Regions from separate parts of the Homo sapiens genome. Here region 2 is linked to region 1. Evidence: promoter capture Hi-C in 16 types of primary human blood cells and fetal thymus (Javierre and others, 2016). All regions are on one chromosome and are shown on one strand. The core of a region is centred on a gene start or on the middle of the fragment in contact, and the rest is flanking DNA. Distances in the headings are between cores, read along the strand shown.

Region 1 (4,449 bases), core at 605-3,104:
GCTAATACCTCCAGAAACAGTCTGTGTAGGACAGAGCCCTGAGGATCAAGATGTCTGTTTCAGTCTTGATACTGTTACTAATCCTGTGTGTGATCTCAAGCAAATCATATCTTCTCTAAGCCTCAGAGGCTTCATCTTGAAAATGTGGAGTTAGACTAAACTAATAAGTTTAAACTGTGATCTGAGAAACTCAACATTTCTGTAATGATGGGAGGGGGCATGAAAGGAGAGAGAGTGCAAGGGTGAAGCTGGGTGAATAGACTAGTGGGTTCCCCACTTACACTCCCAACTTAGCAGCTCCACATTTTAAACCACCAGATTTTATTAGAAGGGAGTATTCCACTGCCAATAAAACAGGTGGAAACCACTACAAGTTTTATGTAGCCACATTCCCTGGAATTATCTTTTCTTGGCTCCTCTTTTCTTTCTTGTCCTGGACATGGAACTAAAGGGAACATGTTTTTAAAATTCTGGCTGAAATGAACATATTTCTTTGTCCTTCTTTCTTCTCTCCTACCGAGGAGTGAAATTAAAGACAGTGCTAAAGGCATAAGCAAGGCCAGTATGGAAACTTCCAGCAATTTCACCAAAAGTTTTCAGCAAAATATTACAGATTAGAAAACATCTGTTTCAGAATAGCTACCAAGTGCTAAATAAAACAGAAAACAGAAGTTACATCTCATTATCCTGTGACTTCAGGAGTTATCATTCCCACTTGAATATGTCTTGTCATGGGAAATGACCTTCAGGAGGCATCTTCTTTGTATTTCTTACTATATGTCTCCCCACTGTCCCTGAACTATCATTATAAACTTAATTTTTTCTGCACCCAAAGCTTGTGGGAACTAGAATGAACAGAAGAGGAATGAATGAAGCCCTCATTCTTTTCAGCGATTTTCAGCTTAGGACCCAGTTTTGGAACAAGATAGACCCAAATCTACTTCCTGGTTTCCTGCTTAGAAATAAGATGCTTATCCTTTAAGGCAGATTGTCAAGCTCCTTCAATAGAGGTGAATGAGGACACCCATCATCTGCAAATCATTACATCTTCACAAGAGAATTATGATATTCTCCAAATACCATGAAACTTCAATTTTTAATCTTCTAGGGATATCAAATTAAACCAAATTTATCTCTCGCCTGAAGACAGCCTGGAGGACTGAGACTGTAATCTTGATTCCAACTCCACACCAGCCATTAGTTACATTGGGACAAATTCCTTCCCATGATCAGGCTGCAATTTTATCATTGGGAGCACTGGAGTAAATGGTTCCCTAAGATCCTTCTCCATTTTGATGTTCTAAGGATAAATTACTATTGAAGAAATTATTTCCAGTTGTTGGTTCAATCTTCAAAATCACCAAAAGCTTTGATTTTAAGGTGAGGTTATAGGAGTTGGCTCTTGATATTCTATGCCTTGTGCTTCAGAACAGGCAGTCGAAAGGGAGGAAAGTTGGTTTTCCTTGAGATGACTGTCTTGTTCCCTCATTGGTTTGGGATTCTTCATGTTCAGAGGTCCACTGAGAACTTCAGCTTACCATGACTTTCCCTCTTCAATGGTACCACTGTAGTCAGGTGTAAGATGGTGATGTGGAACCCTTCACTGACATTGCACCCAATTCTCCAGATTGTCTTTCCAGTAATTTCTTTCATTTCTCCTTCATCCCTGCGTCATGGTCCCTTTAAGGGAGCGGCCATAGTTGAGTGGTGGGAGCAGCTGCTGGCAGCAAAGAGACTTGCAGGATTTGGCCTACCCATGGCCACTTACCGCGCACGCTCAGGACCGGGGGCTTGGTGGGAAAGGAAGGAGGGACTTAGGGTGCGCCTGCGCATCAGGGGCGCGCGCAAGGGGCTGATTTGGTGATCCCTTTAAGAAACCGCAGGCGGAGGAATTTCTCTGAGAGAAAATAATCCTACTCACGGGGCCCCTTGGAGGCCATTAACCCCCCGAGTCCCGGCCCCCACCCCGTCCCCGGGCAGGCCCTCCCGCCCACGCGCGGACCCGTGGGATCTCAGAAGCTGCGGCCCGGCGCGCGGCATCCGCCCCCTCCCCACTCTCGGCGCAAGGCCCGGCCGGGTCCGGGGAAGCTGCCGCGAGGCGGCCGTGCCTGCAGTGTGGGCGGGGGCCGGGGGGCCGAGAGGTACCGCCGCCACCGCGCGGGGAGCCGCAGCGGTTCCGAGCGGGGCCCAACATGGCGGAGAGAGAGGTGGAGTCCGGCCCCCGAAAGAGGGTAGGTGAGGTGAGGCAGAACTCGGGCGGCGGGGGGCGGGGCGCGGCCCGGGGCCGGGAATGGGCCATACTCAGGTTCGTGGAGGGGTCGCCGAGGCCCAGTTAGGACAAGGTTGCGGGCAGGTCTGAGGCAGCCTTGGGTCCGGAGCGCGCTGGCGAGCGGTCCCTCGGCAGGTGGGACAAAGATTTGGTGCTGGGTGGGGGGGAGGGGAGGGGGCCGTTGTTTGCCTTCCTCCCCCCGACGTTCCCCAGCACTGGGGTGGGATATCTAGGCCCAGGGAGGGGAGGTGTCAGATTCTTAAGTGCATCTTTAGTGCATCTTTAGTACATCAGAGTCTGGAAGTTAACTGGGGAGAGGTCAGGTGGGGGTGGTGGTGGCGGGAATAAGTCGTGGAGGGGTCTCAGGAGAAATAACCGGAGGGTTCTTCAGTAACACCATCGCGAATTCATTTTCCTGCCTCCTTTCCCCTCCCCCCATAGCCGTTATCTAGACCAAAGTCGGGGTGGTGGTCTTACCTGTGAAGAAGTGGGATCGTTGGCATGTCCTGATTTAGGAGAAAGATTTTGGCTACTATGAATGTCATGTTCTAGCCTAGCCTCTTACTCGCAATTAGGGACTTGGAAGAATACGACAAGTTTTCTCATAACAGGGATGTACCCAATCAACCTGCAGAGGTGAAGCCAATTCTACATAGGAGTTGTTTGAATACCTTTTAAAGTTTGTCTGGAAACTTTCCTTATTTAATTCTGAGTGGTTTTTTTCAGATGGCGAACAATACTGTACTATCGATTGAGCAATATCCCTCACTTTTCTTTTACTTCCTCCCCGCTTAGCATGATAAGAAGTAAGTTTCCTTTTAGGAGTCTTCCTTTTGGGAATGGTTTCAGAAACGATCAATTAGCAAAAGGGCAAAAAATTACTACTTTATGAAGAATGCCCTTTCAGCTTAGCGTAAAATTAGTAATCTCGTAATGATGCTACAGCTGATGTTTTGAGTGCTTACTGTGTGCCTGGCACTGAGCTAAGACCTTTATGTGAAGAATTTAACTTCATAGTAACTCCTCCTAGAACCTATTTGCAGATGAGGAAATTTAGGTGTTGAGGGCTTAAGTAATTTACTTAGATCACACAGCTAGTTGCAAGGTTGAGGTAGGATTTGAATCCAGGTTTGTCCCAACTATAGTGCCTGTGTGGGATGCCACAGAGGAGTTTCTTTAATCTGTGTTTCTCTCCTTAAAAGCTTAAATTGTAAATGACCAAAGAAGTGTCAAGTATTATTTTTTCCAACAATTTATTAGGAAAATATTTTGAACTATCCGTCAATATTATAAAACTTACGGGGAGCAGTCATACACCCAACCGCCTAGATCCTACTGTTAACATTGCATTCCGGACATGCACAGCGGCTCACGCCTGTAATCCCAGCACTTTGGGAGGCCGAGGCGGCAGGATCACTTGAGGCCAGGAGTTCGAGACCAGCCTGGCCAACATGGTGAAACCCCGTCTCTACTAAAAATACAAAAAATTAACCCGGCGTGGTGGCGGGTGCCTGTAATCCCAGCTATTCGGGAGGCTGAGGCAGGGGAATCGCTTGAACCTGGGAGGCGGTGGTAGCAGGGAGGCGGTGGTAGCAGTGAGCCGAGATCGTGCTACTGCACTCTAGCCTAGGTGACAGAGGGAGGCACTGTCTCAAAACCCCCTCCAAAAAAAAAATTGCATTCCACTTGTTTTATCATATATTTACCCCTCTATCCCTCTTTCTGTTCATCAGTCGTGTTATTTTAATGCATTTCATCGTAGTGTTTTGAACAATAAATTTTTACCATTGATAAGTTTACGAAATGTTGGATTCACCTAATGCAATAATTAGTCATAGAGCAAGTTAAGCTGTATGATGGTATGTCCAAATAGTTTTGTAAGTATAAATGTTGTGTATGGAATGCATGTGTTTTGAAATTTTAAAATTTTCAAGTTGTGTTCAGTTTTGAACTAGATCCTTACTGTGCTTGGATGAAGGCATATGGCATATAGTCCACCAATGAAAATATACAGGGTAAATTACTTAAGATATGTAATGTTAATTCAGGGAGATTTCTGCATCCAGTTGCTGTGAATGTTGTCATTCACCTTCTGTACTAGGATGTTCTAGGATATTCTAGAAAACATTGATGTGTGTTGACAACAAATTCAACTAGATTTTAAATATATTCTGCCTCTT
Region 2 (4,908 bases), core at 624-3,123, 190 kb before region 1:
CTCATCTGATCTTGTGGCCCCCACCAGGGAACTAACTCAGCGCATGAGGACAGACAGCTTCAACTTCCCATTATTTCATCTCCTACCTAACCAATCAGCGCTTCTGGCTCACTGGCTTCCCCCCACCCACCAGTTGTCCTTAAAAACTCTGATTCCCAAATGCTCGAGGAGACTGATTTAAATAATAATAAAATTTCAGTCTCCCGCACAGCTGGCTCTGCGTGAATTACTCTTTCTCTATTGCAATTCCCCGTCTTGATAAATGGACTGTGTTTAGGTAGCGGGCAAGGTGAACCCACGGGGCATTTACAATGACATCACTTGCCTTTGGATGCCCACTGAACCAGGACTCATTTCTGGGTTCCAATCTAATCCCAGTCACTGAGTTGCTGTGTAACTTGGGGCAAATTACCTTTATCCTCTTGCCTTCAGCTTTTCCTTTGGTAGGAAGGGAGCATTAGAGGAGAGATCATTTCAGTAAGGTCCTTTCTAATCCTAACAGTCTAAACAGATTATTATGAATATTAGAAGGTAATAATAAATGTTGGAGAAATTAACTTCAGTTACTCGTATAATATTTCAAATTACCAAAGGGTTTATATTAGATTTGAGGCTAATTCCAAAGGATATTTAAGGACCATAGCAGCAAGGATTAGGAGGCCCTTTTGGTCTGGACCTCACCTTCACAAGGGCCTCAAATTTAGATTTTTGAGAATATCTCCTTTAAAAGTAATTGTCAAATATGATTATAATAAGTTCATCATTCAACCTTATATATATATTTTAGAATCCTCTTATGCCTTTAGGAATAGCACAGTTAGTTCGTCCTATACTTTTTTAGGTGTTGAAAGTATTGTCAAAAAACATTTAAAATATGCCATTATTTTTGACATGCAGTTTGGGGTTATTTTAATTTTTTTTTTTTTTTTTTTTTTTTTTTTTGAGACGCAGTCTCTCTCTGTCGCTCAGGCTGAAGTGCAGTGGTACAATCTCAGCTCACTGCAACCTCTGCCTCCTGGCTTCAAGCGATTCTCCTGCCTCAGACTCCCAAGTAGCTGGGATTACAGGCGCCCGCCTCCATGCCCGGCTAATTTCTGTATTTTTAATAGAGACGGGGTTTCACCATGTTGGTCAGGATGGTCTTGAATTCCTGAACTCAAGCAGTCCACCCGCCTCGGCCTCCCAAAGTGCTGGAATTATAGGTGTGACCCACCACACCCAGCCTGGGGTCATTTTAATTTTAACGTACTAATGAAAGAAGTCTGAACTCCCTCCCTACCTCTGAGGATAATTTCCTTTTACTAGGAATTTACTCTGCAACTGGCACTTTGCTAACATTGCCTGTCATATTTTTTTTTTTTGAGTCCAGCTTCTGCAGAAGCCTGCCTAATGTTTACAAACCTACGATGCAGCCACTACAATTATCCCCATTTCAAGGTCGAAGAAATGGAGATTTATAGAAGTTGTCAAATCGCTTACTAGCACACAGCTAATAAGTAGTAAAGCCATCTCTCAAATCCAGGAAATCTAACTGCCCTGCCTGAGCTCTGAGTCAAGGGTCCTACTTTGGCTGCCAGCCAGCGACGACTTCAAGGGTAAGATCCTATGCGGGCCGTAAGGACTCTTCCCCTCCCCCTCTCCCACTTCTTCTATCCCAAAGTCGCTCTTCCCAATTCAGGGAGCTGGGACCACCCTGAGCCAGCGGCCCTGCGCATGCTCAACCGCAGAGCACGACGGGAGAGGGGCGGGGTCGGCGGGGCCGTTTCGCTTCGAAGATTGTTTCAGAAGCGTTGGGCGGGGCGTCCCTGAGAGAAATTAGTAAGCCTCCTCATGCGGCTCTGGTTTCGGTCTTTACTCCTGCGCCTTACTCGAAAGGGGCAGGGTTTCTGCTGTCGGTCGGAGGGAGGATGACGCGCCGGGTCGGGGTTTTAGAGACGGAGCTTTGAGTGCGGATTCCGCCAGATGGGGGTCGGGAACTCCGGGCCAGGCCCTGACGTGGATTGTGTTTGCCGCCTCCTTTAACCTTGCCCTCATAGACTGGGGGGGTTAGTGCTCCCCGCTTCCAGCGATTCTCGCCGCCTCCTGCTCCTGTGTAGTAACTGGGCCTTCAGACTTTAGTCTCGCTCCGCAGCCTCCGTTTCAGAAGCCCCATCACACCTGTATCTCTCCTTCATTGAGCAGTGATTTTTCAAAAGTTTGACTCCTGGCCGGGCGTGGTGCCTCAAGCCTGTAATCCCGACACTTTGGGAGGCCCAGGCGGGCGGATCTCTTGAGGTCAGAAGTTCGAGACCAGCCTGGCCAACATGGCAAAACCCCGTCTCTACTAAAAGTACAAAAATTAGCTGGGCTTGGTGGCAGGCGCCTGTAATCTCAGCTACTCAGGAGGCTGAGGCAGGAGAATCGCTTGAACCGGGAGGCAGAGGTTGCATTTAGTCGAGATCGTGCCACTGCACTCCAGAGCGAGACCCCGTCTCAAAAAAAAAAATGAAATGTTTGCTGAACCCCAAAAGCACAGTTTGAACGCTGCTGATTTACAAGATTAATTTTAAGGTATTTGGTATCAGGGACCTTCCTGACATGACCCATGTCTACTTTTCAAACTTTCCAGTTCCTTCTACTAGCACTCTTGCACTTGTACTTTATCTGCAACAACAGTCCCACTCCTTCTAGTTCCCATATATTTGTGCTTCTTTTTTTTTTTTTTTTTTTGGAGACTGGGTCTCGCTCTTTGGCCCAGGCTGAGTGCAGTGACACGATCACGGCTCACAAGCAGCCTCAGCCTTCCGAGCTTAAGCGATCCTCCCACCTCAGGTTCCAGAGTAGCTGGAACAACAGGTGCTCCCCACTACGCCCAGCTAATTTTTGTATTTTTTGTAGAGACAGGTTATCTTCATGTTGCCTAGGCTGGTCTCGAACTCCTGAATCGAAGCAATCCACCTGCTTGGGCCTCTCAAAGTGCTGGGATTACAGGCTTGAGCCACTGTGCCCGGCTATTTGTGGTTTTGTACATGCTGTCTCTATACCAGGAATATCCGCCATCATTGGTTGGTAGACACTTTAAAACCCAGCTCAAATTTCACCTCCCAGAAGACTGACCGTCTTCTTTTTTCATTTCTTCTCAGTACCTTGTATATACTTACTGGTTGGGACATCCTACTCATCAGTGTAACCCGGTACCAAGGCACTTCGGAAATGATGGCTCTTCATTGCCTGCAGAATTAACCATGGACATTTTAGTTTGGTTTGAAAAACATATAGCCTTCTGCCTCCAGCCTTCCCATCAGGCTAGTAAAAGACCTTGCAGAACTCAGTTGAATAAAATAATTTTTTTTTTTTGAGACAGCATTTCACTCTTGTCTCCCAGACTGGAGTGCAGTAGCGCGATCTCAGCTCACTGCAACCTCCACCTCCAGTTCAAGTGATTCTCCTGCCTCAGCCTCCCAAGTAGCTGGGATTACACCACACCTGGCTAATTTTTGTTTAGTAGAGACAGGGTTTCACCATGTTGGCCAGGCTGGTCTAGAACTCCGACCTCAGCTGATCCACCCTCTCAAAGTGCTGGGATTGCAGACAGGAGCCACCGTGCCCGGCCGAATAAAATAAATCTTAGCAAAGTGTAATGTATAAAGAAGTGGTATAATGCGAAGAAATAAGGGATAGGAGTATATCTGCTTCCAGACTCTGTTTTGTTTTTGCTTGTGTCCATACCACACTATCTTAATTTACTGTAGCTTTATAAGCCCTTCCAACATTTTTTTTTTTTGATATTGTCTTGGTTATGCTAGGCTCTGTATGCACATTGTATATACATTAGAATTACCTTACAAATTCCACAAAAACCCCTGCTGGGATTTTCATCTACAGCTTAATTAGGAGAAAAATTAATATTGACTCTTTCCATCAATGAGCATTTATTTAGATCTTCCTTAATTTCTCTCAGCAATGTTTTGTTTTCACTGTAGAGTTCTTTAATAGCTTTCATTAGATTTATTCCTATATTTGATATTTATGATGCTGCAGAAAATGGTTATTTTTATATTTTTCTGTTCTAGTATAAAGAAATAAAATTGATTTTTTGTTTGTTTGTTTGAGACGGAGTCGCACTGTGTCACCCAGGCTGGAATGCAGTGGCACAATCTCGGCTCACTGTAGCCTCTGACACCCAGGTTCAAGTGATTCTCCTGTTTCAGCCTCCTGAGTAGCTGGGATTACAGGTGCCCACCACCATGCCCAGCTAATTCTTTTGTATTTTTAGTAGATACGGGTTTCACCATGTTAGGCTGGTCTTGAACTCCTGACCTCAGGTAATTCACCCATCTCTGCCTCCCAAATTGCTAGGATGACAGGCGTGAGCCACTGCACCTGGCCAAAATTTATTTTCGAATGTCTTGCTAAGCTTAATAACTTGGAGATTCTTTTGAATTTTCTTTGTATAGAATCATGTCATCCATGAATAATAACAATTTTAACTGCCTTTTCAAAGTTTGTCTTTTATTTTTTCTTGCTTTATTGATCTAACTAGAACTTCTACTACAATGTTGAAGATAAGTGATAAGAAAAATTCTAAAATGCGGATCTTGTATTATCCTATAATTCTGCTGAATTCACTTATTCTAATAGTTTCTTTTGCGGGGGGTGAGTTGGGGGAGGTTCCTTAGAGTTTTCTATATGCAGTCATGTCTACAAATAAAAAGTTTTCTTCCTTTCCAACTTTTTTTTTTTTTTAAATGGAGTCATGCGCTGTCACCCAGGCTGGAGTGCAGTGGCATGATCTGGGCTCACTGCAACCTCCACCTCCTGGGTTCATGCAGTTCTCCTGCCTCAGCTTCCCGAGTAGCTGGGATTACAGGCGTGCACCACCATACCCAGCTAATTTTTGTATTTTTGGTAGAGATGGGGTTTCACCAT

Evidence for each region. Contacts are between HindIII fragments. The CHiCAGO score rates a contact against its expected background, and 5 or more counts as called.
Region 2: a fragment that was not itself captured here is called in contact with the fragment with the promoter of ZMYM4 in region 1 in 1 of 17 cell types (naive CD8 T cells); the score reaches 5.1 in naive CD8 T cells.

The regions. Positions count from the first base shown.
Region 1 is chr1:35,266,855-35,271,303 of GRCh38, forward strand. It overlaps ZMYM4 (zinc finger MYM-type containing 4), which reads left to right and starts at 1,855. Exons shown (of 30, transcript NM_005095.3): 1 at 1,855-2,231. The coding sequence starts at 2,193. RefSeq lists enhancers at 1,545-1,604, 1,625-1,684 and silencers at 1,815-2,174, 2,245-2,374. The HindIII fragment of the contact is 2,104 bases long and covers 1,366-3,469 here.
Region 2 is chr1:35,077,625-35,082,532 of GRCh38, forward strand. It overlaps ZMYM1 (zinc finger MYM-type containing 1), which reads left to right and starts at 1,761. Exons shown (of 10, transcript NM_024772.5): 1 at 1,761-1,818. RefSeq lists an enhancer at 1,668-2,186. The HindIII fragment of the contact is 5,042 bases long and covers 1-4,394 here.